Regions from separate parts of the Homo sapiens genome. Here regions 2, 3 and 4 are each linked to region 1. Evidence: promoter capture Hi-C in 16 types of primary human blood cells and fetal thymus (Javierre and others, 2016). All regions are on one chromosome and are shown on one strand. The core of a region is centred on a gene start or on the middle of the fragment in contact, and the rest is flanking DNA. Distances in the headings are between cores, read along the strand shown. Region 1 holds the start of H4C3 (H4 clustered histone 3). Region 2 holds the start of TRY-GTA1-1 (tRNA-Tyr (anticodon GTA) 1-1). Region 3 holds the start of BTN2A1 (butyrophilin subfamily 2 member A1). Region 4 holds the start of BTN3A2 (butyrophilin subfamily 3 member A2).

Region 1 (6,841 bases), core at 3,201-5,700:
TTCTAACTTTTGAATTGACATATTCATTTATTCTCTTTATCATTCAGGGAGAAATTTGGGGATGGATAGCCTTGAAGCATCATCCACCAAGTTATTTTATACACCAGATTTAGATACAAAGTATTTTTTTATTATTTAAAAAAATCAAATTCTAGCTTTTACTCTGAAGATTCTAAAAAGAATTTTGGAGTCTTTAATTCATACTTCAGGGGCAGGGGAATAAGTACCAATATTCGTATAACTTTCAGTGCAAGTCACGTTAGCTAACTGTAGTCTATTGAGTTAAATATCCTTGATTTATTCCTTAAAACTGAGTCACTATGACGGCACTTTTTTGTTTTTTTTTTTCGAGACGGAGCTCGCCCTGTCTCCCAGGCTGGAGTGCGGTGGTGCGATCTCGGCTCACTGCAATCTCCGCCTCCCAGGTTCAAGCGATTCTCCTGCCCCAGCCTCCTGAGTAGCTGGGACTACAGGCACACACCACCACGCCCAGCTAATGTTTGTATTTTTAGTAGAGACAGGGTTTCATCATTTTGGTCAGGCTGGTCTTGAACTCCTGACCTCGTGATCAGCCTGCCTCGACCTCCCAAAGTGCTGGGATTACAGTCATGAGCCACTGCACCCGGCTGAATGGCACTTTCATAAAACAGTAAATAACCAACTTCACTACTGCCCCCAAGAGTTTTACTATGTATATGAGGGCATCTGTTTTAAGTATGGGTATAATGTTACGGGTTTTTCTTTGTGTAAGTTTGGGTTCACAATTTCATCATTAAAACAAATGTAAAATACTTTGTGCTTTCTGTGTGCTATTAAGAAAGTATTCAAGGGAATTTTGAAAATCAAATTTAATTACTCTCATGTTTGTAAAATTTTTGAAACAAATGTTTAAGAGAGGATAATGTTAGAAATTATCTTTCCAGCCAGACCTGGTGGCTCACGCCAGTAATCCTAGCATTTTGGGAGGACAAGGTGGGCAGATCACTTAAGCCCAGGAATTCAAGACCAGCCTGGACAACACAGGGAAAGCCCATCTCTACAAAATATACAAAATTAGTGGCCGAGCGTGGTGGCTCACGCCTGTAATCCCAGCACTTTGGGAGGCCGAGGCGGGCAGATCACCTGAGGTCAGGAGTTCCAGACCAGCCTCAACATGGAGAAACCCCGTCTCTACTAAAAATACAAAATTAGCTGGGCGTGGTGATGCATGCCTGTAATCCCAGCTACTCGGGAGGCTGAGGCAGGAGAATTGCTTGAACCTGGGAGGTAGAGGTTGCGGTGAGCCGAGATCCCGCCATTGCACTCCAGCCTGGGCAACAAGAGCGAAACTCCATCTCAAAAAACAAAACAAACAAATAAACAAAATTAGTCAGGTGTGGTTGTGCACACCTGTAGTCCCAGCTACTTGGGAGGCTGAGGTGGGAGGATCACTTGAGCCCGGGGAAGTGTAGGCTACCATGAGCCATCATGGTGCCACTGTACTCCAGTCTAGGAAAAAAATAAACATTAAAAATTTTAAAATCTTAAAAAAAGAAAAGAAATTTTCTGTCCAGATATCTTTATTTTTAACAAATCGAAGTGTATTAATAGTGTTTATGGGAGCGTGCCCACACAAGGACAGCAAGCCTAGGAAGTGCAAGTCAAGAAAACTTTTTGTGAAATAATTTAAACTGAAAAGAAAAAGCAGAGATTTTTTTCTAGAAAAGTAAGGAGTGGAGGTAAAAAAAAAACACAGCAGAGACACAGGTATGCTACGGAACCAAAGGTGTGCCAATGGTACTGACAGTTTAATTCAGAAAAAAATGAATCAGAAAATGGATATTTTTAAATAAGTTAGGTTGCTGAAAAAGAGAAATGCAGTGAAGCCTTAGATGGGAGTGAGATAAATCAGCCATTGGCTAGAGGAGTTTCTTGCCCAAGACCAGTGGTGATGTCCCCAAATGCCTGGAAACAACTGTTGTGACATTATAAAGCCCCCATAGTCTAAGTTGGGTGAGACTATACTTATGCATTTTCTCACCTGTAATATAGCTTAAAAGTATTTCTACTCTGGGATTTCTTTACATTTTACTAAAGCGCAATTATATACTTAAAACTGATAGTGTATGCTGGGCTGCTAGTCATTCTCAACCCTGGCCAATTATCAGAATTGTTTGTTGAATATATAGGTGCCATATATAGGTGCATACACACACACACACACACACATACACACACACACACACACACACACACCATATTTCATTCCTCATATCGAATATTCTGAGAGAGTTAGTTTGTGGAGGGTAGTTCTGGACAATTTATATTTTCATAACACCTCTGGTTATTTTTTTTTAAGTAGAGATGAAGACTTGCTATGTTGCCCAAAATGGTCTTGAACTCCTGAGCTCAAGCGATTCTCCCAACTCAGCCTCCTGAAGTGCTGGGATTACAGCCGTGAGCCACTGCATTAACCTCTGATTAATATCATAGATTAACCTCTGATTAATATCATAGATTTATTTGTTTGAATGCTTCATGTATCCTCTCAACCACAACTTGTTTGCAGAGTTTTAATCTGAAGGGCTTAGGTCTCTTGTTCAATGAATGAGTTTGATCTGATGGGTGAGAGGAAGGTGAAATGGAAAGCGAACGAGAAGCCATACAGATTAGGCGAGTGAGCCTAATCTCTCCCTAACCATAAGATTGAGTATGCCTGAATTCTTCGCAGAGTGGAAGAATCCATTTTAAATATATATATCTACATGTACAGATCCTTTAAATATTTGTTCTGACATTCATTGTTTTTGAGTCACTGTCATTGAGAAAAGTTTAGAAAGGAGATATTAGGAGCAGGAAATAGAAAGTAAATAAAATATCAAAATAAAAATGGGGTTTTATAAATGATATAATAGGCAAAATAAAGGAAAGGCATCCTAGACCTCTGGTTAAAATGAAGATGGCACTTGGCGAGATGTGTTCCAGGGTAGTTCACATGATGTATGTTTTCAGAGAATTGTCATATTGCATATGCTGCTATATTTTTTATTTTCATGAATTAAAAGGCATGTTGAGATTTCAGAGTTTTACTTATGATCTCAGACTCTGCATTTTTTCTCTGTAATGTTTGACATTTCTTCCTAGCTAAGTCTCTAGTTATAAGGTCTGTGTTGTGGCATGTGGACAGTGAGTGGAAGAACCTAAGAACTCAATTTGGGGCAGAAGAATGTAATCAATTATTTCAGAAGTGATACAAACAATATGACATGTAGAGCATTCTGGCCTTTCCTGGGTCTTTTTTCTCCATTCCTGGATTTCTTCTCTTCATGTGAGCAAGTCTGAGGTTACTATATAATGTCTCTCACAGGCCACAGCCCCATTCTAAATATTCCCAATAGAAATTCATTTATTAACCAGAGAGTGGTGGGTGGGGTTGTTTTTGTTTTTTAAACAAAAGTGGATCTTATGGGCATTCTGGAAAGCTCCCGCAGGAAGCTAAGAATAAAATTTTGAATTGAGAAGTCCCTTTCTTCAAACCACATTCAGACCCAATTCTGCTATTCTATTTATTTTTCAAGGGGATTAGCCTTATTTTAACACCAATAATCTTATCACAAAAACCTCCCAGAGGAAGACCCTGTAGATTTTGTAATGACCTTAATCAAGTATTAGCCCTACACTTCAATTAATCCCCAACTGTACAAAACGAATGTTCTTTTCTCTAAAGCTGTAGCAAGTTGAAAGGGGATTAAAAACGGAGGGAAGGGAAGAGTGTTTGGAATTTCAGGCACAGCAAACAGGCACAGCAGACCAGGAAGAGCGTCCCGGGAAAACATATTATCCAGACTTAAGTTTATATTCCCTGTCTCTCTCAGACTTTTGCAGAAAAATGAGTCATTCAACAAATATTTGAATCGAGATAGGGAAAGTGACGAGGAAGAAGTTTGCACTTATGAGGTTTTAATTTGCAATTATTTGGCTACCTTTTTGCCTTCCCAAAACATAGGGTCTTTAGGAGTGAAACTTCATAGCCAAACTTATACCTTGTCCAGCACAGAGAAGGCCATCAAAATGCCTGGTTTAAATAAAAATATTAAAATGATTGGGAGGGTAAATCCCTTGACCTATAAATCTGACCTCCTTTAAACATTATTTGTATGTTCCCCAATAAACTATTCCGTAATTTATTAGTTAGCAAGTGGAAATAAAAAGAAATGTGGAATGGGGCTATGCTTAGCGTCATTAAGCTGACAGGAATACAGCGCATTCAACTTGCAAACACCCTTCCACTCCCACAAAGAGCAAGCTGTCACTGGCCAATCAAAACAATGAACCATAATGAAACAGTTTTTCTTGCTCCACCCACTTGGTGACCAAATTTGAAAAAAAAAAAAAACCGCGCCAACTCATGTTGTTTTCAATCAGGTCCGCCAAGTTTGTATTTAAGGAACTGTTTCAGTTCATACCTTCCACTGCGATAGGAATCATGTCTGGTCGCGGCAAAGGCGGAAAAGGCTTGGGGAAGGGTGGTGCTAAGCGCCATCGTAAGGTGCTCCGGGATAACATCCAGGGCATTACAAAACCGGCTATTCGCCGTTTGGCTCGGCGCGGTGGCGTCAAGCGCATTTCCGGTCTTATCTATGAGGAGACTCGAGGTGTGCTTAAGGTTTTCTTAGAGAACGTTATTCGAGACGCCGTCACCTATACGGAGCACGCCAAGCGCAAAACTGTCACAGCCATGGATGTAGTATATGCCCTAAAACGTCAGGGGCGCACTCTGTATGGCTTCGGCGGCTGAATCTAAGAATACGCGGTCTCCTGAGAACTTCAAAAAACAAAAACAAAAAAACCCAAAGGCCCTTTTCAGGGCCGCTCACAAAGTCGTTTAAAGAGCTGAAATGCGTTGCGAGAATGAGTTTGGATGACAGAAATAACCGTGACATCCTGCATAAGAATGAATTGTGTTTGCCATGACCGGCCACACTGTGACAAAATTTCAAAGCATAAAGTAGGCATAGAGAGGTAAGCGCTAATAAAGTGATTGGCTCCACAAAAAGCATTTTGCTGGGCGCAGTGGCTCACGACTGTAATCCCAGCACTTTGGGAGGCCAAAGCTAGTGTATCACTTGAGATCAAGAATCCGAGACCAGCCTGGCCAAAATGGTGAAACCCCCTCTACCAAAAAAAATACAAAACTTAGCCGGGCGTGGTGGTCTGCACCTGTAGGCCCAGCTAGCCCGGAAGCAGAGATTGCAGTGAGCCGAGATCGCGCCACTCCCCTCCAGCCTGGGAGACAGAGAGAGACTCCTCAAAAAAAAAAAAAAAAAAAAAAAAAAAAATTATGTATTTTAGAGCATTCTAAGAATGGTACTTTGGACTTAACCGAAGGGCTGGAGGCGCGTGTTGAACAAAGGTTATCACCTTTTGGCTCATGCGGCACACAGCTATGTAAATAAAGCATCTTTAGGGACAAGCTCTCATTTGCGGAGGGTTCTATGGCTGTTGTCCTATTGGCCAAAACAAAGTGGTCTAAGTCCGGGCGCGGTGGCTCACGCCTGTATTCCCAGCAGTTTGGTAGGCCAAGGTGGGTGGATCACGAGGTCTGGCGTTCAAGACCAGCCTGGCCAAGATGGTGAAACCCCGTCTACTAAAAATACAAAAATTAGCCGGGCGTGGTGGCGGGCACCTGTAATCCCAGCTACGTGGGAGGCTGAGCCAGAGAACTGCTTGAACCCAGGAGGCAGAGGTTGCAGTGAACCGAGATTGTGCCACTGCACTCTAGCCTGGGTGACAGAGCGAGGCTCCATCCAAAACAAAACAAAACAAAAAAGTGGTCTAATAATCCCCAGAACTGGAGGAAGAACCATAACTTATTGATTTTGTTTTTAACCTTATGTATGCCAGGCATGCTAGCCTTGTATACATACAAGGCTAGAGGAGCAAAGGTGCAGGAAGCCATCTTGAGGGAGTCCCATATTATTGAGAGACCGGCCAGCTGCTGGGAGAGGCTAGTTGTTCATCCTCACTGTATGTGATGAGAATCTGGTGACAGTCCATTGCTGGGCACAGCATTTAGGCAAAATGGCTCTCTGCTATGTCAGGCAAGTGAGGCATATTTTTGCACAATCCTAGTAATTCCGAACTCATTGGGAAACAATGGCAATTACATCCAAGCAAGGAAAGGTCTGTGGTTGATTTTATCTATACAAATTTAAAACATAATGTTTACAACCTTTCATTATAGGACACAATTTTTAAAAAGATGCCAAACTATACAAATAAGTTCAGAAAAGTGAGGTACTATTGAACCGTCTGGAAAACATAAATGTATGTGAAATAATGCAATGCATAGTTTTGCAGGGGACTTTGTTCAAAGTTTCTCGAAATACCATGGTCCAAAGTAGACTAACATTAGCATTGGTTATTTATGATGATCAGTAAGAATACTAAATCAAAAATCAAAGGAAAATTAAACTATGTCTGTTTAAAGAGAAACGTAGTTTACCTCAGACTGAGAGTTAAAACAAGTTTGTGATTCAGGAAGGTGGAATTCAGAACCTAATTGGGCAGCCTCCAACATTTCCATTAAGGTTTGGATTCTTAAAATTTTTCAGTCTTCGGTATGCTCTGGTAGTCTGATGAAACTTACAGATTCTTTTCATAAATAAGATACTTAAAGTAATTCATAGGGTTACAATTGTATTAGACCAATAATATTAAAATAATTATCAAACCACTTGACCGTAATATGTGTGTTTTTGTTGATATACCTAATAGTACTTCGGAAATAAGCAAGCACGATTTCCAGATTCTTGCAACAACTATAACCTACAAATTTGTTATTTCTATCAGTCACACACAA
Region 2 (6,841 bases), core at 1,953-4,452, 460 kb after region 1:
CAAGGAACATAAGGCCAACTCACACTTCAGCTATAACAGGAAATATCCTCTCCATAGGGCATACACGGAGTAAATTACTTTGTAACTTTAATTCATCCTCTTCATTTACATAGGGCGTACCCCAAGTAGATGATATTTAAACTCACAAAAACTCTGTAACGGGGCCTTTGAGCTCCTGTGCTCAGCCCCACTCCCACACTGTGGAGTATACTTTCGTTTTCAATAAAACCCTTCATTCTTTCCTTGCTCTGTTTGTGCGTTTTGTCCAGTTCTTTGTTCAAGACGCCAAGAACCTGGACACCCTCCACCATTACCACCATTAACACCAGGCTCTAGTGATCCTCCCATCTCAGCCTCCTGAGTAGCTGGAGCTGTAGGCACGTGCCACCACGCCCAGCTAACTTTTGTATTTTTTGTAGAGACGGGGTTTTGCCATATTCCCCAGTGGTGGCTCACGCCTGTAATCCCAGCACTTTGGGAGGCTGAGGCGGGTTGATCACGAGGTCAGGAGTTTGAGACCAGCCTGGCCAACATGGTGAAACCCTGTCTCTACTAAAAATACAAAAATTAGCTGGGCGCGGTGGCGGGCGCTTGTAATCCCAGCTACTAGGGAGGCTGAGGCAGAAGAATTGCTTGAACCTGGGAGGCGGAGGTTGCAGTGAGCCAAGATCGGGCCACTGCACCACTCCAGTCTGGGTGACTGAGCAAGACTCCGTCTCAGGGGAAAAAAAAAAGTGATTCTGATCAATCGCTTCTTCAAAATTCCTAACTAAGCATGGGCAACATAGTGAGACCTATGACTCAACATACTGAGTCTCTACAAAAATACAAAAACAAAATAAACCAGCCCATTAGCTGGGCATGATGATATGTGCCTTAATCCCAGCTGCTCAGGTGGCTGAGGGGAGATGATCCCTTGAGCCTAGGAGTTCAAGACTTTAGTGAGCTTTGATCCCACCGCTGCACCCCAGCCTGGACCACTGCACCCCAGCATCAACAACAGAGTGTGACCCTGTCTCGAAAAAAAAAATCCTCTGTAAGGACTATAACTCCATCTAGGAGGCTTTCCTTAATTAATCTCAACCAAATCTGATCTCTTACATAGTCTAAATTCTTGTGTACTTAGCTTTTTTTGTGGTACTGTTTGGGACTTGTTTTAATGATTACATTATTACTCGTATGCTTCCTATGGTGTTATTCTTGAATTTTTTATACTCTAATTTCACTAAAGATAAGGCCCAGCGAAAAGGCTTTCAAAGTACTCTCTGTGGGTTCCCCTGTTTGAGCCTGTGGGAGTAAGGCAGTGGACAGCACACTCTGAGAACTGTGCGTTACAAATTCTATTTAATTTGATATTCACAACTATCCCCTTAGGATCTGTATTACCTTCATTATCATCATCTCCATTTTGTATAAGGCATGAGGAAGTTAGGGAAGTCATACTACTAGTGAGACATAGATTCAAAGGTGGACTAAGTGGCTCCAATACCTCTCTGTGTTCTTTCCATTACATCATACATACGAGTAAATAGCCTGTCCATGTTGCTGTAACTTCTACTACCAAAATTCATTATTTACTTTTAAATTGTGTTCAAAAGGGTCTATGTATACAATTAGTTCAATACATATTTACTTTTTAGGAAGCATTACAGTACAGTTACTGTTGAAACACATGCCACAGAAATTGGTTCTTCACTCACTCCCGAGGGACCCAAGCAGCCTCCACTTGGGGTTCTTCCGGCGTTATCTGGCGCTGCTGCACCACGTCCTCCCCTACACGTGGAGGTCGGTGGTGCGATTTCCTCACCCTCAAGGGACTCAAGGGACCACGCGCTCGCAAAGAACCCAGGGCCTCTTCCATCAGCTCGCAGCAGGTACGCAGTAAACCTTTACCGAATGAATGAATGGAAATCAAATCTGCGAATTAACTGCATGTTAGTTTGCCACATGGGCTGCATTTTAAAATTTTATTTATTTATTTACTTATTTTTATTTATTTTTTTTGAGACGGAGTCTCGCTCCGTCGCCCAGGCTGGAGTGCAGCGGCGCGATCTCGGCTCACTGCAAGCCCCGCCTCCCAGGTTCGCGCCATTTTCCTGTCTCAGCCTCCCGAGTAGCTAGGACTACAGGCGCCCGCCACCATGCCCGGCTGTATTTTTAGTAGAGACGGGGTTTCACCATGTTAGCCGGGATGGTCTCGATCTCCTGACCTCGTGATCCGCCCGCCTCGGCCTCCCAAAGTGCTGGGATTACAGGCGTGAGCCACCGCGCCCGGGGGGAACTTCTTTTAATGGTGCCAATCTTATGGACCTCAGACACCTCTCAGTGAGAACTTGCTGGCATTTTGTGTGGAGAACAGAACCGAGGGGACCAATCTGGACAAGGGGAGCCAATTAGAAAACTGCAGGCCCAGGATTATCTTATTTTCATTCTCTAGAGCAGAGTTTCAATAGAGCGCTATTGACATTTTGGACTAGATATTATAATTCTTTGTTGTGGGGGCTGTTCTATGCATTACAGGATGTTTACTAGCATTCCTGTTCTTTACCTACTACATTCCTCAGTCACAACAATTTACCTACTATATTCCTCAGTCACAACAATTAAAAATGTCTTCTTACATTGTCAGATGACCGTTGTGAAGGCAAAATTGCTCCATTAGAGAAATTACTGCTCCACGAGTATGTACCATTGTTTTGGCTTACTATTTATTTTTGAGACAGGGTCTGGCTCTGTCGCTCAGGCTGCAGTGCAGTGACGTGACACAATCATAGCTCACTGTGGCCTCACACTCTTTGGCTCATGGGATCCTCCCTCCTCAGCCAGTCCCAGTAGCTGGGACTACAGGCCCCCGACCACTACGACCCGCTAATTTTTGTATTTTTTGTAGAAACAGGGTTTCACCATGTTGGCCATGGCTGATCTCGAACTCCTGGTCTCAAGAGACTTAGCTGCCTCAGGCTCCCAAACTGCTGAGATTACAGGCCTGAGCCACCAAGCCCGGCCTAGTTTACTATTTATTGATTAGGGTAGTTTTTCAGCTTTGTAAGGGAACGTCGTGATGTGGTGATGCAAATGAACTTCGTCTGATATTTAGTTATTTTCCGTCCTGTAGAAACAGTACAGTTTTATTGTCCTGTAAGGCAGTTTCCAGTTCTCTACCTCACTTAGCAATGTTAATTTACAGCATTGCTTCTTTCAGTGACTATCAATAAATTCTTCGATCCAGTTTTACCAGTTTTACCATCTTGATGATTCCCTCATTAGTGAATTAAACCTTTGACAAGTGTTTATTTCATATTCGTATATGAATCATGCATTTAACCGTTTGAAAAGTGTATTTTGACCAAATGTATAAAAGTAAATACATCTGTGAAATAGGATAACTTATTCAGGCAATTGAGGTTGGAGAGGAGATAAAACATTACATTTAATTCATCGAGACTCGCCCCACTCAAATAAATGTTTCATGGACTTGAGGAGATTAATGGCCAAGTTAAATGTACTTTCAATTTTTGTTCAGAAAAGAAAAAAAAAATCTGTGTGCCATAAAGGAGTGAACATTGGGCTCAATGGCCTACTTGCACAAGAAGGATCATTTGCCCTGTGCATGTTTCATTATATGACAAGGTAATTATCTTTAATGGAACATGAAAAAGAATGAAACAGATTTTTTTTTCTCTTTTCTTTTTTTTTTTTTTTTTTTTTTTTTTGAGACGGAGTCTTGCTCTGTGGAGTGGCTGGAGTGCGGTGGCAACATATCTGCTCACTGCAACCTCTGCCTCCTAGGTTGCAGTGATTCTCCTGCCTCGGCCTCCCGAGTAGCTGGGATTACAGGCGCCCACCACCACCACGCCCGGCTGATTCTTGTAGTTTTAACAGAGACAGGGGTGTCACCATTTTGGCCAGGTTGGTCTCGAACTCCTGACCTCAGGTGATCTCCCCGTCTCGGCCTGCTGAAGTCCTGGGATTACAGAGGTAAGTCACCGCGCCGGGCCATAATGAAACAGATTTCGGATGCCAGATTCCACCACAAGTGGATTTTTTCATTAACAAGGGAGGATAATAGCTATTCTGAGCTTCAGAGTCATAGAAAGCTAGACAAGAATCTTACACTTTGCAAAACTAATATTTGAAATGATATTACCTTGTGTTAATCATTTAAAAATGTATCATTTTAGCACACCCATGGATAGGTTTTTGCTGAGTTAAGAATTAATGTGATGGCCAGCTGCTGTGGGCTCACGCCTATGATCCTAGGGCTTTAGAAGGCCAAAACGGGCGGATCACTTGAGGCCAAGAGTTCGAGACCAGCCTGGCCAACATGGCAAAAATCACAACTCTACTAAAAATATAAAAATTAGGCGGGCGTGGTGGCTTGCGTTTGTAATCCCAGCTGCTCGAAGGCTGAGGCGGGAGAACGGGAGAATCGCTCGAACCTGGGAAGCGGAGGTTGCAGTGAGCCGATATCGCGCCACTGCACTCCAGCCCAGGCGACAGAGCGAGACTCTGTCTCAAAAAAAAAAAAAAAATTATTATGCTTTCGAAGTTGCATTATTTAGCCTGCTCTTCCTTCTCTTCCTCCTGTCAGTTATCTCAATAAAATCCCATTAAAATTGCATTGTTAAAGTGTTTCAAATTCTATTTTTAGGTAGAGGTTAAAATTGGTTATATAATGCATTCATCACAACAAAAGATGGTCATTGCTAAATTCTTATCAGTTCCTTGTGCCTCCTTAACATTTTATGTTTCTTTTTGTAAACTAGTGAGGGTGGTGCTCCCGTTTTCTCCCTGTTTCAGAGAAAAGGGCCTCTGAATATCAGTCAGTTCCGAAGGGGTAGTGGATGTCAAAAGAACATCAACGACGCAGGTAAACAGGACGACAAGCATCCACGATTGCCCAACCTTCCGCAGAGATGGCATCCCCAGCGGGAAGTGAAAGTCGTGTGAATCCTTCGATAGCTCAGTTGGTAGAGCGGAGGACTGTAGTTGGCTGTGTCCTTAGACATCCTTAGGTCGCTGGTTCGAATCCGGCTCGAAGGAGTTCACAATTTTTTTTTTTTGCGTAAGTTTTAAAATTCATTCTCAGAAATGCGTATTTCACTTATACATATCCTCGATAAGAATCTATTTAAAACTATTCTGGATGTGCAGTGAATCTCTTTAATTTTTTATTATTCTCCGTAACAATTTTTAACACGCGCCATCAAGACTTCATCCCTATAATTCGTATAATCCAACCCTCTTAGAAGCCCTGGGCACTGAGGAAGTGAATCAGACACTGGTCCACTGGGCTAGAGATCCACAGAGGCGTCTCCACCCCTCAACCCCGGATCCACAGCCGGGGGAAAGGGGCGGCTGGTGGGAATTACTCGGAGCAACTGGTAATTGGTGGGGCACGCGCGTGCCCTGGTGTTCAGAGTTCTGAATCGTTGCGAGTCAGTTACAAGCTGAACCACTAGCGTCTGAACCCTATACATCTGAAGCCGGGATGAAATTCAGGAGTTCTATTCCCCCTTCTCCTTTTAATTGTCATGGTGGTGTCTTTCGACCCTAGCAGAGAATATGTGGTCGATATTAGAATCACCTGGGGAGATTTTACAAAGCATCTATGCTTGGGTTTCTTTGGAGGTAAGATTCAGGTATTGTAGTTTCAAAAGCTCACCAGCTGACTTTCCTGTACTGCAAGTTTTGAAAAACACTGGTAGAAGAGAATCATTTTAGGAGAAAATAGTACATAAGGGAAAAAATGGACAGGATTTCCTACCCACATAGGGAATTAGCTCACAAAGTAGAGATCTGGCATAACAGTGGTACATATTTGCTAATTTTGTGCCAATCTAATTACAATATATTAATCCCATTGTACCCTTTTGTGTCTCAAAAATGTGATCCCAGATACCTATGGAAGAGTTCTTAATGACAAATATCTTTGTCTAGATCAAAGTAAGGAAGCGTTTTCTGAGGATTTTGTGCCTGGTAATTTCTTGTATGTTCCTTCCCATGTTTCCAAACTTTTATTCTTTATGAAAATAATTCTCAAACTTGGATATCAGAACCACCTGGAAAACTAACAAAAAACACAGAAGCCCAGGCTTATTGAATTAGGGTGGTGGTTGGAGAGCCCTGCCCAAAACGCATTGGAAGCCACTCCTATTAAGGGCTGGAGATGGATCTAAACTGATAGCTCCCCCATGAACTTGCTTTTTGAAAGCTGGTTGGGGGCAAAAGAAAAATGGCCTTTTGTTTGTGGTTTTTTGAGACGGAGTCTCGCTCTGTCGCCCAGCCTGGAGTGCAGTGGCTCCATCTCAGCTCACTGCAACCTCCACCTTCCGGATTCGAGAGATTCTCCCGCCTCAGTCTCCCGAGTAGCTAGGATTACAGGCGTCCGCCACCACGCCGGGCTAATTTTTGTGTTTGTGGTAGAAACGGGGTTTCACCATGTTGGCCAGGCTGGTCTGGAACTCCTGACTTCAGTTGATCCACCAACCTCGGCCTCCCAAAGTGCTGGAATTTCAGGCGCAAGCCACCGCACCCAGCCAGAAAACAAAACAAAACAAAACAAAACAAATAGGTATTTTCAAAGGTAATGTTTGGGGCTTGAATGCAACATTTGTTAAATAGTCCTGGACTAAGCTTCTTGCCAAGGCACAATAGATTTCAGTCCAGATAGATTCTCTGTCACAATTCTCCTCCTATGTGCCAGCACCAGTAACAGCAGCAGACCCCCCCACCCCACCCTCCGGCAAGATATAGCAAGATGACTTCAGAAGAGGAAGAGTGAACGTCAAAACAAAACAAAACAAAAACCCTCAAACATACCTACATACCCTTTGGCTCT
Region 3 (6,841 bases), core at 3,090-5,589, 350 kb after region 1:
TACTCCCAGGCTGGAGTACAGTGGCACGATCTCAGCTCACTGCAACCTCCACCTCCCAGGTTGAAGTGATTCTCCTGCCTCAGCCTTCCGAGTAGCTGGGACTACAGGTGCGTGCCACCACGCCTGGCTAATTTTTTGTGTTTTCAGTGCAGACGAGGTTTCACCATGTTGTCCAGGATGGTCTCGATCTACTGACCTTGTGATCCACCCACCTCGGCCTCCCAAAGTGCTGGGATTACAGGTATGAGCCACCGCGCCTGGCTTCAGAAATTCATGAACTTAAAGCAACACAAATTTATTATCTCACTGTTCTGTAGGTGAGAAGTCAGAAGTCCCACAGGGATCTCACCAGGCTAGAATCAAGGTGTCTGCAGGCTGGATTCCTTTCTGGAGTCTCTAAGGAAGAATCTGTTTCCTTGCTTATTCAGACTATTGGCAGAATCAGTTCCTTTCATTTATAGGACTGACGTCCCAGTTGTTCCCTGGTTTTTAGCTAAGGGCTGTACCCACTTCTAGAGGCTGCCACACTCTGGCTCCTAGCTCCCTTCCTGTATCTTCAAAGCAGCAACAGCGCATTGAGGCTCATCTCCTAGGTCTTTTTCTCCATTGTGTCTCTCTGATTCTTTTACCTTCTCCTTTTTTTCCTTCCTTTCTTTTTTTTTTTTTTTTCTTCTTTGACAAGGACTCGCTCTGTCACCCAGGCTGAAGTGCAGTGGCGTGATCTCAGCTCACCACATTGTCCCCTGGGCTCAAGCAATCCACCCATCTTAGCTTCTCAAGCAGCTGGGAGCACAGAGCCACATCACCATGCCTGGGTATTTTCTTGTAGAGACAGGGTCTTGCCATGTTGCCCAGGCTGGTCTCAAACTCCTGAGCTCAAGCAATCTGCCCACCTTGGTCTCCCAAAGTGCTGGGATTATAGGCATGAGCCACCACGCTCAGTCTGCCTTTTACTTTTAAAGACTCCTATGATTAAACTGAGATCACCCAGACAATTTAGAATAATCTCTCTATTTTAAGGTCCATAACCTTAATTCTGTGTAAAATTCATTTTACTGTGTTATACATTCTTTTCATAACTTTCATAGTGAATATAGCTCAAAGGGTGGGTGCGGGGAGCACTATTCAGCTCACCACACTGATTTGGGAAGTGATTCCAGGAAACACAAGTGCAGAAACAAATTGAGAAATGAAAAAAAGCCAATTACATGACAAATGGGATAAAGGGTTCACTCATGAGTCAGTTACCATGTGGATAACTTGGCTGAATCCCTTTTAGGACTCTCTAAGAAACCATATGAAATGTGTGATATAGCTCAGAATCTTCCTAAGGACTACAGGGCCTGGGACTTTATCTCCACTTCCCATCCTCCTTTGCTTGAATTGGTTGAAGGTTGGCCTGGGAGTGTTAATTCTAATGCACTTTAAGATTGGGCTATGTAACTGCAGAAAAGCAACTATCACGGGTGTGATAAAGCTCACAGGCAAAGGAGAAGGGAGATACTCACTGGAGGTGGAAAGGTTGTCATCCTTGCAGAAAACTGTGCCTCAGCTATTGGCAAACTGTGATAGGCCAAGAGAATATGGGATGGGGCATCAACAGCGTCTGTTATAAGGGCTCTGCCTCTGAGAATATAGTGAATGCCTTTCAAGGTCTCTCTGCCCTCGCTGTACCACATTTAGCATTAGTGACCTCTTCTCTTCCAATACATGCCCACATCACATGGCCCTGCAGCCTCACCACATGGACTGGGTCTGGGATGGACACCTGACCCAGGCTAGGCCAGAGGACCAAGTGACATGTGGCTAGTTACTCCTGTAGCAGATGTGCATGGGAGCTGTGGGAAGAAATGCTCCATTCATGGTGTGGACTAAACAATGGTGGATTGCAGAGAAGACCAAAGCAGATGAGCAGAGAGAAGGCTACAAGATGGAAAGAGTTTAGGCAAATTTCTCACGTTTGGTTCTTTTAGAAGCCCAGTATCATTTCTTCTTTTTGAAAAAATGTGTTCTTTTGAGGCAAGATAAATGTACTCGTTAATATTGCTTGTAGTCCTAATATTCAGAAGCTTATGCAACTATTATAATATGTTCAGTGATTCTGTGAGTCAGGAATCTAGAATTTGAACAGGGCAGAGTAGGAATGGATTTTCTGTATGTCAACATGTCTAGGCCTCCCCTGGGAGTACTCCATAGCTGGAGATGACACAGCTATATTACCTTCACAGACTGTAGTTTATTGTAAAGCAAAAGGAAATCAATGCTTACCCTGTATCCTGGTTCTTCCAGGGTTGGCAGGTCCATAAAGAACCTTGCCAACGTGACCCTTCCTGTCTCTATCCCTCCCACTACAGAGCATGATTGGGTTAGGTTGTTACTATCTAACCGGGCACACCCCAGTAGAGCCTGATTTCTTTCTAAGCTACCCCATCGTCAACTGATCCTCTTCCTTCTCAGAACACACACGTTTCCCTCTAGCTCAGATCAACTTTGGCAGAGGCTGAAGCCTGGCTTAGCTGGATGCTTCTGGCAAAAGGGCTACTTCAAAGCCCTGGGCCTTATTTCTTCAGGTAAAAAAATATAAAGTCAGATCTCATCCTGGCTGGCCATGCTGTTAGACCCTTTCATCCTTCTCTTCTGCCTCTTCTCAACAGCTGCCCAGTCCTGTTTGGAATTCATATACATACAGTTCTAATACTGATGTATTTACCCTCATAAGCCACTCAACCCAGAATCTTATTTGAATTATAATCCAGAAACATCAGGTGACGTGTGAGACTACTGTATGAGAAAGAGACAGTTTAAGGGTCAGTCCAATGGAAAAAAGAGTTCTCAGAGCTTTCTTTAGCTTATTCTCATCAAAGAGCTTTCTCTGCAGAAGGAACCTACTGGTTCCTCCTTTCCAGTCCTAGAAATCCTGACCTAGAGTGGCTTAATCCTGCTAGCACCTCTCTCTCGCACTCTGGTGCCAAATGACTCCAGGAACTGGGCCATGATGTGGTGGGAATGACCTTACCCTGAGCATGTCACTCATGCATTGAACAACAGCTAAGAGCAGAGCTTAGAGCTTAGAGCTGGGCCCTGTAAGGTGAGAGGAATCACATCCTGCAGAAGTCTGTCCTGAGAAGCAGGTACTCCTGTCACAGCAGAGACACAGTGGATACCTGAGTAACAATAATACAAGACAGGACGTGGGAACAGCAAAAGATTTGGGTGTCAGAAGAGGCCGAGAACACTTCAGGCAGGAACATTCAGAGTTGTTCTTGGAGGAAGTAGGCACGAAGGCTGGGCAGGATTTCACGGGGCAGAGATGGAGCAAGCAATTGAAATGAAAGCCATGGCATGGGAAAAGGAGCACTGGCCACAGGGAGTGCAACGTTGTGATGCAAGGCCACTGTGGAGCCATTGCTAGCGTATTAACTGCAAAGTTTTGAATTGAATCAGAAGGGAATTGGAGGCCTCCAGACTAAGCATTTAGACACTTGAGGGGAATATTGACAACTGGGCCTCGGGAAGATTATTCTGGAAGATATCTTTACAATTACAAGATTGGAGCCTTTGGGAGAGGGATGATGTTTACGGGAGGATGGTATGTGTGCTAGTGTGTGTGTCTGTGTGTGGCTCTTGGACCCAACCTGACCACCTACTATCTAGAAGGTGAAGGACAACTAGAAAGTTTTGCTCAATTCCATCTTCTGCCACCACCAGAATGCCACCTCCCTGAGGGAAAAGGTTTTTGATCCTCAGTCAGGATTCTCAGCACCTCTTATCCGATAGCTTTGGAATGAATGGCAAGGCCTTCATAACAGCCACTGCAACTGCTGTCTCCTTTCCTTTGCTACCCCTCCCGCTCCAGCCATGCCAGCTTCCCCCAAGCCCTCCTGCGCTCCAGGCCCAACCTCCAAAGCCAGCAACTTGAACAGGAGTCCTCTGGCTTTGGAAAGGGGGCGGCTTACGTTTTCCTGCTCATGTTTCCTCCCCAGCAAAATTGCCCTCTACATAGAGAGGCCTCTCCTTGTGGACACCAGCAAAGCCACCGACCTCAGTGACAAACCCCAGGGAATCTCCCCAAGGAATCTCAAAGCGAGAGAGAGAGAGAGAGTCTTGAGAGAGAAAGAGAGAGAGAGAGAGTCTTGCTTTCGAACAAAGAAAAAGGAAATAAAAAGACCCGATAATCTCAAAAGGTTATTTGCTGCTTGAAATTTGTGATTCGGTGTATTCTACCCAGCAACTGCTGAGAAATAAGGTTCGACACCATTGGCTGGTTCACTCACACCCGGCCAATCCTGGGCTCTAAAATACTTAGGGAACTCTTGGGACTGTGGAAGCCCAGGAGACCAGATTTCGTTTCCTGCATCTCCAAACATGGCGACCTAGGAGAAGGGGAAGAACAATTTTTTCTCCTCTTTTGGGAAGGTTTGTGTCTAGTAGTGCCTGTGCCCCTGGGCAGATTGGAGAGAAGAGGGACGACTGGAGAATCGTCGAGAACCAGCGGAGAAAAGAAAAAGCAACGTTTAATTCTAGAAGGTAGGAAACGGAGGGGAGGCGCTACAGCTCCGGGGTGGGCACAGTAGGTGGGGGAAGCGGGGTCTGCTGTGGACACGAGACGGGGTCCTGGGACAGGGAAAGCCCACCGGTGGGGAGGCGCGGCCTCGCCTGTCTTTGCCTCAGGCTGCCCGGCCTGGGTCGCGGGGAGGAGGAAGTGAAGGGAGGAGGGTGTGGTAGAATCCAGCGACAACTGAAGAAACTGCATTCTGGCCAGAGAAGTGAGCCGAGGAGGGCGGAAAAAGGCCCCCTTGATCTTGGCATTGATGGCTTACTTCATGGAATGTTTAAGGAATCCCTCTCTCGGGACATACCTGAGCCTTCGGATGCAGGGGACTCCCTGAAGTTGGGGCACTGATGAGACCTACTTGAGTGACGGGAGAGGTTGGGCCCGACCAGCACTGAGGTGCCAAGACTCCTAGGCTGATTCTCCTCTGTAACCCTAGGCCTCCTGTCCCTGCCTGCTCTGGGTGCTCATGGAATCAGCTGCTGCCCTGCACTTCTCCCGGCCAGCCTCCCTCCTCCTCCTCCTCCTCAGCCTGTGTGCACTGGTCTCAGGTAGGGATGTGTGCCACTTGCTGCTGTCACCTATCAGAAAGGAACATCAACCCTGTAGTCTGCAAAGGGAAAGAAAGAAGGACTGTGGAGTTGTTGACTTACCCTTTCATTCTGAACATGTTCATTGAATTTATACCAGCACTGTCCAAAAGGAATACAGTGAGGCACAAAGGCCGAGTGCATGTACAATTGCAAATTTTCAAAAAAAATTAAATTTTACTTTTTATTTTAAAAAGTAAAAAGAAACATGAAATAAATTTGTATACTATATTTTGTTTCGCCCCAAATAATCAAATACGAATATTTAAATACTTAGTTAATATACCATATTACCAATGAGATAGTCAACATTTTGAAATTTTAAATCTTCATAATCCTGTGTGTATTTTACACTTACAGCTCATTTCAGTTGGAACTAGCTAGTGGATATGTGTCCTATTGCACGGCTCAAGTTTACAGTACACTCAGGCACAGCACTAGATTGGGAAATCGAGGAAAATCCCCTCAAGGGCACAGGGTGGACAGAGGGTGCTCAGGGCAGGTTCCTCAGGGTTTCCTTCATGAAGCAGAAGCACACTTTATAGTTACTGCTCCCAGGGGTGCTGTCGACTAGCCACAGCTACTGGTCCCCAGATTTCTCAGCCCAAAGAGACCCTATGGCCATGGAAAAAATAAGTTTGTCCCTAGAATATCTGCTTCCTTTCTTGCCTTAGAGATGTGATGGCTGGTGTCTTTGTCTGACTCTACCCCTTTGTTGAACAGCCCAGTTTATTGTCGTGGGGCCCACTGATCCCATCTTGGCCACGGTTGGAGAAAACACTACGTTACGCTGCCATCTGTCACCCGAGAAAAATGCTGAGGACATGGAGGTGCGGTGGTTCCGGTCTCAGTTCTCCCCCGCAGTGTTTGTGTATAAAGGTGGCAGAGAGAGAACAGAGGAGCAGATGGAGGAGTACCGAGGAAGAACCACCTTTGTGAGCAAAGACATCAGCAGGGGCAGCGTGGCCCTGGTCATACACAACATCACAGCCCAGGAAAACGGCACCTACCGCTGTTACTTCCAAGAAGGCAGGTCCTACGATGAGGCCATCCTGCACCTCGTAGTGGCAGGTGCGTCGCTTCATTTTGCTTTGTTACTTTGGCACAGTGTGACTTTGGGGAAAGTTTCTCTCCTAACCTCAGGCCCATTGCAGACCAGCAAATTTTTGTCTGGACTCCCTTTTCCACTCTCCCTGTGGAAACGGAATTCCAGGGAAAAATCCTTCCTCCTGCACAAGGGACACATGAGTGGGTTTGCCCTGCTAAGCTAAGGGCTTCACTTCTTGAGAAGCACATGCAGAATTCAGCTGAGGCCGTGAGCAGGGGAAAATGGTCAGTCTCGGAAGAGAAGTCTTATACCTGCCTTAGGATTGAACTGTGCACTTCTTTTGGGTTTTTTTTTTCTTTTTGAGACAGAGTCTTGCTCTGTTGTACCCTCGCTGGCACGATCTTGTCTCACTGCAACCTCTGCCTCCCAGGTTGCACTTCTGAGAGTGAGAGGAGACACTGTCAATAATTGTTCCAAGACAACTGGAATAAACTGATTACCCAGAGAACTACAACATATCAAATCTTATTTCTTGATAAATATTAATCTTTACTTCATCTTTCCCAAAATGCTGATTGCAGAGAGAGTGACTTATTGTAAATAGATGGTTTTATTAAACCAAGACGAAATACAGAAGCAAAATTATATATA
Region 4 (6,841 bases), core at 1,599-4,098, 260 kb after region 1:
ACAAGTTATTCTCTTTGTCTTCTTTATATTCATGTTTGTTGCCACTGTGTGTTTCACTTACCTAATGCATTCGTGATTTATTGCTGCATAACAAATTACCACAAACTTAGTGGTTTAAAACAGTACACTTTTCCAGCCTGGGCAACATGATGAAACCCCATCTCTACTGAAAACGCAAAAAATAAAAGATAAAAAATTAGCCCAGCGTGGTGGCACACACCTATAATCCCCGCTACTTGGTAGGCTGAGGCACAAGAATTGCTAGAACCCAGGAAGTGGAGGTTGCAGTGAGCCAAGATTGTGCCACTGCACTCCAGCCTGGGCAACACAGCGAGACTCTGCCTCAAAAATAAATAAATAAATAACAGTACACTTTTATCACTTCAGTTTCTGTGGGTCAGAAGTCCAGGCAGAGCTTAGTGGGCTTCTCTGCTCAGAACTTCACAAAGCAAAAGTATTATTCATGCATGTAAACCTCTAAGCACAATACCAACATCACGGTAGGTTCTATGTGAGTATAAGCTATTATTAAGAATAATAATCAATCCTCTTCCCTCTCCTCCATCCCTAAGGCCTCATCATTTCTTGCCTGGAGTGTCACAGTAGCTTTCTTCCTGGTCTCCTTGTCTTCTACCATCTGATTCTCTAATGAGGACTGGCTATATTGTGTAATCATAGCGTCATCATTCCACAGAATACAATGTAAATGGCACTCTTACTTCCCATCTTCCCTGGCACCTTTCACACTATTGTTTCCAATGTACACATTTTCTCATGCCATTTTTAAAAAAGATTTTCTCTTCACCTTCAAACTAAAACTCCAACTCCACAACAGGCACCAGCTGATACCGAACCTTTCATAATGGAAAATAATGACATTCATAAAGAGTTAATATGTGCAGGTGCTGTGCTAGGTTCTCCCCAAACAACTTAAGAAGCAGGTCACATCCCTACCCATAGCTGAAGAAACAAAGACATTGAGTGAGAAATGAACTTAGGGGTCTCATAGTTTGGAAACTACAAAGTTCAGAGATATGAAGAGTTGGGCTCAGAAACTCCTAATCTGAAGCTTAGCACATTGGCTGCTTCTTTGTGTCAAAGTGACTTGGACCCTCCAGGCAAAGGTGGGATGTTCATTCTTACTAATACGATCTCAAGCAGCACAGCTTCTGATAGAGTCTGAATTTAAAAATAAACAAATGAACAAATAAACAAATATTGATGGATGAATAGGGGTGAACAGCAGGATGGATTTATAATAAAGTAAGAAACTAAAATATTAATTATACAATCTACATGGTAGATATATTGGAATTTACTGAAATTCTTTCACCTTTGCTATATGTTTTAGAAGTTTTATAATAAACTGTTGGGGAGGGGGAAGGGGGAGGGAAAAATTGTGTTTTTCTGTTGATAACAGAGACCAGAAGTACCACTGGCTTAAATAAAACAAGGATTTGTTTTCCTTTCATGAAAAACAAACTTATTTGGAAATTTACCCTGAGTACTAATATATAATAAAATATTTTAAAAGAAAAAATTTTTTAAATAAATTTAGATGGTGACAGTCCAGGGCTGATCTGGCACCTCAGATATGTCATTCATGCCCCAGCCTGCTTCTGACTTCATTCTCTGCTGTCCCAGTGTGTGGCTTCCAACCTCAAGGCTGCCTCATGGTCCCAGGGTGGGCTACTGCACCTCCGGGTCCAAAGTCCATGTTCTAGGCAAGAGGAAGAAGGAAGAAGGGAGAGTGTACCCTCACACTCCCAGCTATTTTGGCCTCCCTTTGAAGGATTTCTGGGAGAAGTACAAGCCCACAACTTTCACCTACAAACCGCTGGCTCCAACTTAGTCCCTTGGCCTGCCCTATCTTCAAGGGGGAAGAGCAGGATGCAGTACCCCAGAAAATTAGGCCTTGTCACTAAGAAGAAGGGGGCATGCACGCTGCAGAAGCAACCAGCCATCTCAAGCAGATACCACACAGCCTAAATTCAAACTGTTGCAATATAATCAAATCCCATCAGCTCCAGTCACATATTAGCTCTAGGAGATTTCTGGCTTGCAGCCCAAAAAAGTGTGTTTTGAGGTCGTAAGCCACAGGGAGAACAAGATTGTCCCATAAACTCCTTACAGAGATGGTGTACAGGAAACGAGCCTTACAGAGACCACAGCCTATGGAGTGTCTAGCTTCAGAGAATATGTACTCCACTGGCAGCGTGAGAAACAAATACCCAAGAAAATACAATATAGCACAAACCAGGAGCTGAGGGTGAATGAAGATGCTCAGAAAGATCTGCAGTAAGAATTTCCTGGGAAAGGTAAAACAATGTCAAGCAGCACTGCCTCTGGAAATCAGAAAAATTATATTATTTGATACCATATCCTAAGCCTAAATGCCAGAAGTTCTTAAAGAGGTGCAGTTTGTCTCATTTTCTTTCCATTCATACCTTTATTAGGCTCTGTAAAAAAGATCCTCCTCTTCTACGTACCTATCTACATGCAAGCAAACTGCCACAGAAGCATCTTAATTAGTGCACATCTTCCTCTCTTTGCACATTAAATTTTTTTACTTTCCTACTCCATTCTGCTAATATTTCTATTACCATGTAAAAGACACGAGACAGGTGAATATAAAGAAATACTTATATACATCCACGCACAAGAATGATTCAAATAGATAAACACAGAAACACAAACACTAAGGGAGGTAGGGCTGGAGTTTTTCCTCAACGTGTACAATTCAATGTACTTTCAGTTTTCATTTCAACGTTCCTCAGTGGTTTCTGCCCAGCAACTGATGAGAAACATCACCTCTGAGCCAATCAAAAAACTAATTCTTCCAAAGAGCGACTCTTACTGTTTCTCATGGTGAGAAGACAATATTTGCTTTCTCTTTTTCCTTTCTTCCGGATGAGAGGCTAAGCCATAATAGAAAGAATGGAGAATTATTGATTGACCGTCTTTATTCTGTGGGCTCTGATTCTCCAATGGGAATACCAAGGGGTAAGTGCAGGAAATTGATTAGAGCCTGGGCTACAACGCATGGGAGGAGCGGGGCTGAATCGCTGAGAGTGGTGAGTGGGCATGCAGGGAGAGTACTCTCCCAGAGAAAGGGGTGCAGTGCCTGTGTGTGTGTGTGTGTGTGTGTGTGTGTGTGTGTGTGTGTGTACATGTGTACATGTGCACACTCGCACATGCACATATGGGCACGTGGGAAGACGGGAGAAGTACTGCAAAGTATAAGGAACTGCAGAGGTTGGGATTTAGTGGAAGGAAAGGGAGACAACATGAATGAAGAAATATTCCAACTGCATGTTCTTAACGTATTGTGGTCAGAAAAGGGCAAACAAACAAACAAACAAAAAACCCTTAAAATCTGTTCTGGCCAACTCAAGGCATCTATTCTGAGAAATTCTGAAGAAGAAGAAGAAAAAAGAGATGTGCCTCATAGATTTATATGTAAATGTGTTTATTACAGAAGTATTTATAATATAGTAAAATCTGAACCAACATACATATTCAACAGGTGGGGAATAGACAAACAATGCATGGTTCAGTCATAAAACATGTTCCATGTAACCATTAGGAATCATAATTTTAATTAAGTGAAATTCTTTATAATTTTAATAACACTGGATCCTTATATTAAACCATTTTTGGTATCTTTTAGGGATAGTACTTGGTTTTCTTTCCATTCATCATTTCCCCAAAACCTAAAGCATGATTTCCCATGGTTACAAGCTACTACATTGTATGAATATATAATTATTGGGAGTCTCTGTGAGCCTACTCTGACTCAGAAAGCCGCTCCTAAAGAAGAAAAAAGAACAAACAAACAAATAAAAAACCCGAATTATTTTTAAAACTCTTTATTTTGGATTTTTCAGTTTCTACATTTTGTTACTGTAGATTTTACTAGATTGAACAGCCTTATCCATAAATATTTGCATCAATCTCTAAATTTTTTTCTTCAACACTAACTTTTATAGTTGGAATTTTGGGGGCAAATAATACAACATTTTAAAGGCACTTGCCATGTGTACATGGCCAAATGCTTCCAGAAACATTTCCACTTCCATTAGCAAAGTATATAACTACAGAGTATTTAAGGTTTTATTCCTTTATATTTTTTTCTTTGGCAAAATTGTCTATAGTAGAAAGAATGAATAATAAATAACCTAAAAAATAAAAGTTCTCCCTCTGAGGACAGCAGAGAAATTTTTAGCTTAGCTTAATAATACCTCCTTCTCCTTAGGAGAATAAAGAGCAGTTTCGAGGAGCAGAAGATGTGGTGAAATATAATGTTTAGTCTGATGGTGGATGCAAGATCCAGGCAGGGGTGGAGCATGACCAGCTGCACAGACCTCTGTTCCCTTGCTTCCTCTACATCTCTCCCCACCTCCATCTGCAGACCTTGTTCTCAGAGGCCATTCCCAGACCCACAGCAGCTGGTATGATGGCTGCAGGCCTCATGCTCCTTTGTTTTGGGAGAAACTGTTGAGGAGTTAGTATTTACTGAGCAGCTAATATGTTCCAGTCACTATTATTCCTCATAATAATTAGTTATTAACTAATACATGAAAATTTTAAACTTAAAGCATTCCAATAATTTTAAAAGTAAAGGAAGCAAAAGGCCAAAGCGTCCTTTCACTCACTTAACCTCCAATTTTCAGTTTAGCATCCATCATTTTAGACTTTTTCAGGCATTTACATATATAGTTATGCAGAAATGTATAGCTTTGCTTTTGTTTTTCAATTGAATCATTAGTATAGTTCTGCAAGGTGCTTTTTAATCACTTAGTATATCTCCATTATCCAGGCTAGTGACATTAAATCACTCTTTTTAACTGCTGCATTGAATTTCCTCCTAGGGATGAGCCATCATTCCTCTAACCAGTCTCTTGTGAGTGGCTGGTTCAGTTGGTAACCACTTTTATACTTTAAAAATAGTGCTGCAGTGTCATTCCCACAGAGGCTTCTCTCTGCACCCATGCGAGTACTTCGCTGAAGTAACCATCAGGAAGTGGAATTGCTGGGCCAATTGTGAACATTCTAAGTCTCATACTCGATATTTTTGAGTAACTAAAGTTGAAATGGTTTTGTCCCATGACTGAGATCATCAAGCTTGTGACTTGTAGAGCCTTTACCTATTGTCTACCCTCTTTGTGTTCCTAACTCTACCATAGTGGGTCCAGCCCATTGTGGGTGCTCAGTAAATATTTGTTGAATAACTTTATGAAGGGAAGAAAGAAAAGATGAGTAAAGCCTGGTCTTATTCAAAGCTCTCCTAATCAATATCTTTGTGATTAAACGTGGTGGGTTCAGCCCCTGACTGACTTCAGAGCCTCTGCCAGGCAGTCTGCCTGGATCCCACCAGGAGCCACCAGGCCATAAGTTGACTGTAGTAATGGCCAAGAGTTTGACGCTTGAGGAGTCCATAGTGTTGGACACCCACAGAGCTGAACAAGGGTGGGACCAGGGAATCCAGTGAAGAGGGTCCTTCATGAATCAGAGGGGGATGATGGAAGCTTGGACCTGGCAAGGGAAGTGTGGGGAAGTGATAGGATTATGAATATTTTAATATTTTAATGCAGTAGAGTCAGAGATGTCCTGATCAGATAACAGATATTATTTTTACAGATGGTTTTCCATACTGGAACCCAAAGGTAAAGACACTCAAGGACAGACATTTTTGGCAGAGGTAAGATCTTCTTCGGTCACCATATTTGAGTTAGCCCTGGGGAAGTGGACATTTCCATGCAGAATCCTAAAGCTTCTTCCAGGCCATAGTGTCTGTCCCACACCTTCTGGTATCTCTTGATATGCAGCATAGATGAAAATGGCAAGTTCCCTGGCTTTCCTTCTGCTCAACTTTCATGTCTCCCTCCTCTTGGTCCAGCTGCTCACTCCTTGCTCAGGTAGGGAATGATTCCATGATTCCACATTTATGTTTCTGAAGCAGACAATTATCTCAATTACCTAATTAAGCAGACAATTACCTAAATGCCCTCTTAGAACCTTTAACTCATTCCCATACCTGGAAGTCCATCCCAACCTGAAGGATCACCTGTCACAAAGAGACAAATGGTCCTTCTGTTAGGATTGTGTTCCCCTCTAGGTTCTCTGTATCTCGCCTTCCCTGTCTGAGAAGGACCCTTCCTCTCATGACCCCAACTCCAAAACCCTCTGATGGAGCTTCCCCCTTGTGCTGACAGCTCAGTTTTCTGTGCTTGGACCCTCTGGGCCCATCCTGGCCATGGTGGGTGAAGACGCTGATCTGCCCTGTCACCTGTTCCCGACCATGAGTGCAGAGACCATGGAGCTGAAGTGGGTAAGTTCCAGCCTAAGGCAGGTGGTGAACGTGTATGCAGATGGAAAGGAAGTGGAAGACAGGCAGAGTGCACCGTATCGAGGGAGAACTTCGATTCTGCGGGATGGCATCACTGCAGGGAAGGCTGCTCTCCGAATACACAACGTCACAGCCTCTGACAGTGGAAAGTACTTGTGTTATTTCCAAGATGGTGACTTCTATGAAAAAGCCCTGGTGGAGCTGAAGGTTGCAGGTGAGCCTCCAGGTTTTGTTCTGAGAACATTTCTCTGTAGGATCTAGAGCAGATGCAGAGTCCCTCTTGCAAAAGCACTGCAGACACTCCTGGCTGCTCACTAGCAATTGCCTGCACTGCCTCCCAACTTAGCTTCTCTGAGGCCCTTGAGTAAGACACAGGTTTTCCTTTAGGAAGAATTCCTGCTGTACCCTACATGCTCAAGTAAAGAACTCCTTTCCTCTGGCCACCAGAGATATAAGCGAAGTGAAGGACGAGGGATAGGAAGCATAAGAAAC

What was found. The method cuts DNA at HindIII sites, captures the fragments that hold promoters and counts their contacts. A CHiCAGO score of 5 or more calls a contact.
Region 2: a contact is called between a fragment that was not itself captured here and the fragment with the promoter of H4C3 in region 1, in 1 of 17 cell types (neutrophils). The highest score is 5.6, in neutrophils.
Region 3: the fragment with the promoter of BTN2A1 here is called in contact with the fragment with the promoter of H4C3 in region 1 in 1 of 17 cell types (neutrophils); the score reaches 5.1 in neutrophils.
Region 4: the fragment with the promoter of BTN3A2 here is called in contact with the fragment with the promoter of H4C3 in region 1 in 2 of 17 cell types (naive CD8 T cells and monocytes); the score reaches 6.3 in naive CD8 T cells.

What each region holds. Positions count from the first base shown.
Region 1 is chr6:26,099,483-26,106,323 of GRCh38, forward strand. It overlaps H4C3 (H4 clustered histone 3), which reads left to right and starts at 4,451. Exons shown (of 1, transcript NM_003542.4): 1 at 4,451-4,855. The coding sequence starts at 4,466. The coding sequence ends at 4,777. RefSeq lists enhancers at 3,989-4,098, 4,123-4,813. The HindIII fragment of the contact is 10,429 bases long and covers 1-6,841 here.
Region 2 is chr6:26,563,906-26,570,746 of GRCh38, forward strand. TRY-GTA1-1 (tRNA-Tyr (anticodon GTA) 1-1) reads left to right here and starts at 4,953; the gene lies at 4,953-5,043. LOC105374988 (a long non-coding RNA gene) reads left to right here and starts at 5,419. Exons shown (of 2, transcript NR_134611.1): 1 at 5,419-5,631. RefSeq lists an enhancer at 5,495-5,624. The HindIII fragment of the contact is 6,863 bases long and covers 1-6,634 here.
Region 3 is chr6:26,453,616-26,460,456 of GRCh38, forward strand. BTN2A1 (butyrophilin subfamily 2 member A1) reads left to right here and starts at 4,340. Exons shown (of 8, transcript NM_007049.5): 1 at 4,340-4,527; 2 at 4,992-5,103; 3 at 5,866-6,213. The coding sequence starts at 5,022. RefSeq lists enhancers at 3,951-4,210, 4,371-4,530. The HindIII fragment of the contact is 11,033 bases long and covers 2,068-6,841 here.
Region 4 is chr6:26,362,350-26,369,190 of GRCh38, forward strand. It overlaps BTN3A2 (butyrophilin subfamily 3 member A2), which reads left to right and starts at 2,849. Exons shown (of 11, transcript NM_007047.5): 1 at 2,849-3,003; 2 at 5,641-5,701; 3 at 5,829-5,918; 4 at 6,216-6,563. The coding sequence starts at 5,834. RefSeq lists an enhancer at 2,807-2,856. The HindIII fragment of the contact is 4,055 bases long and covers 1,068-5,122 here.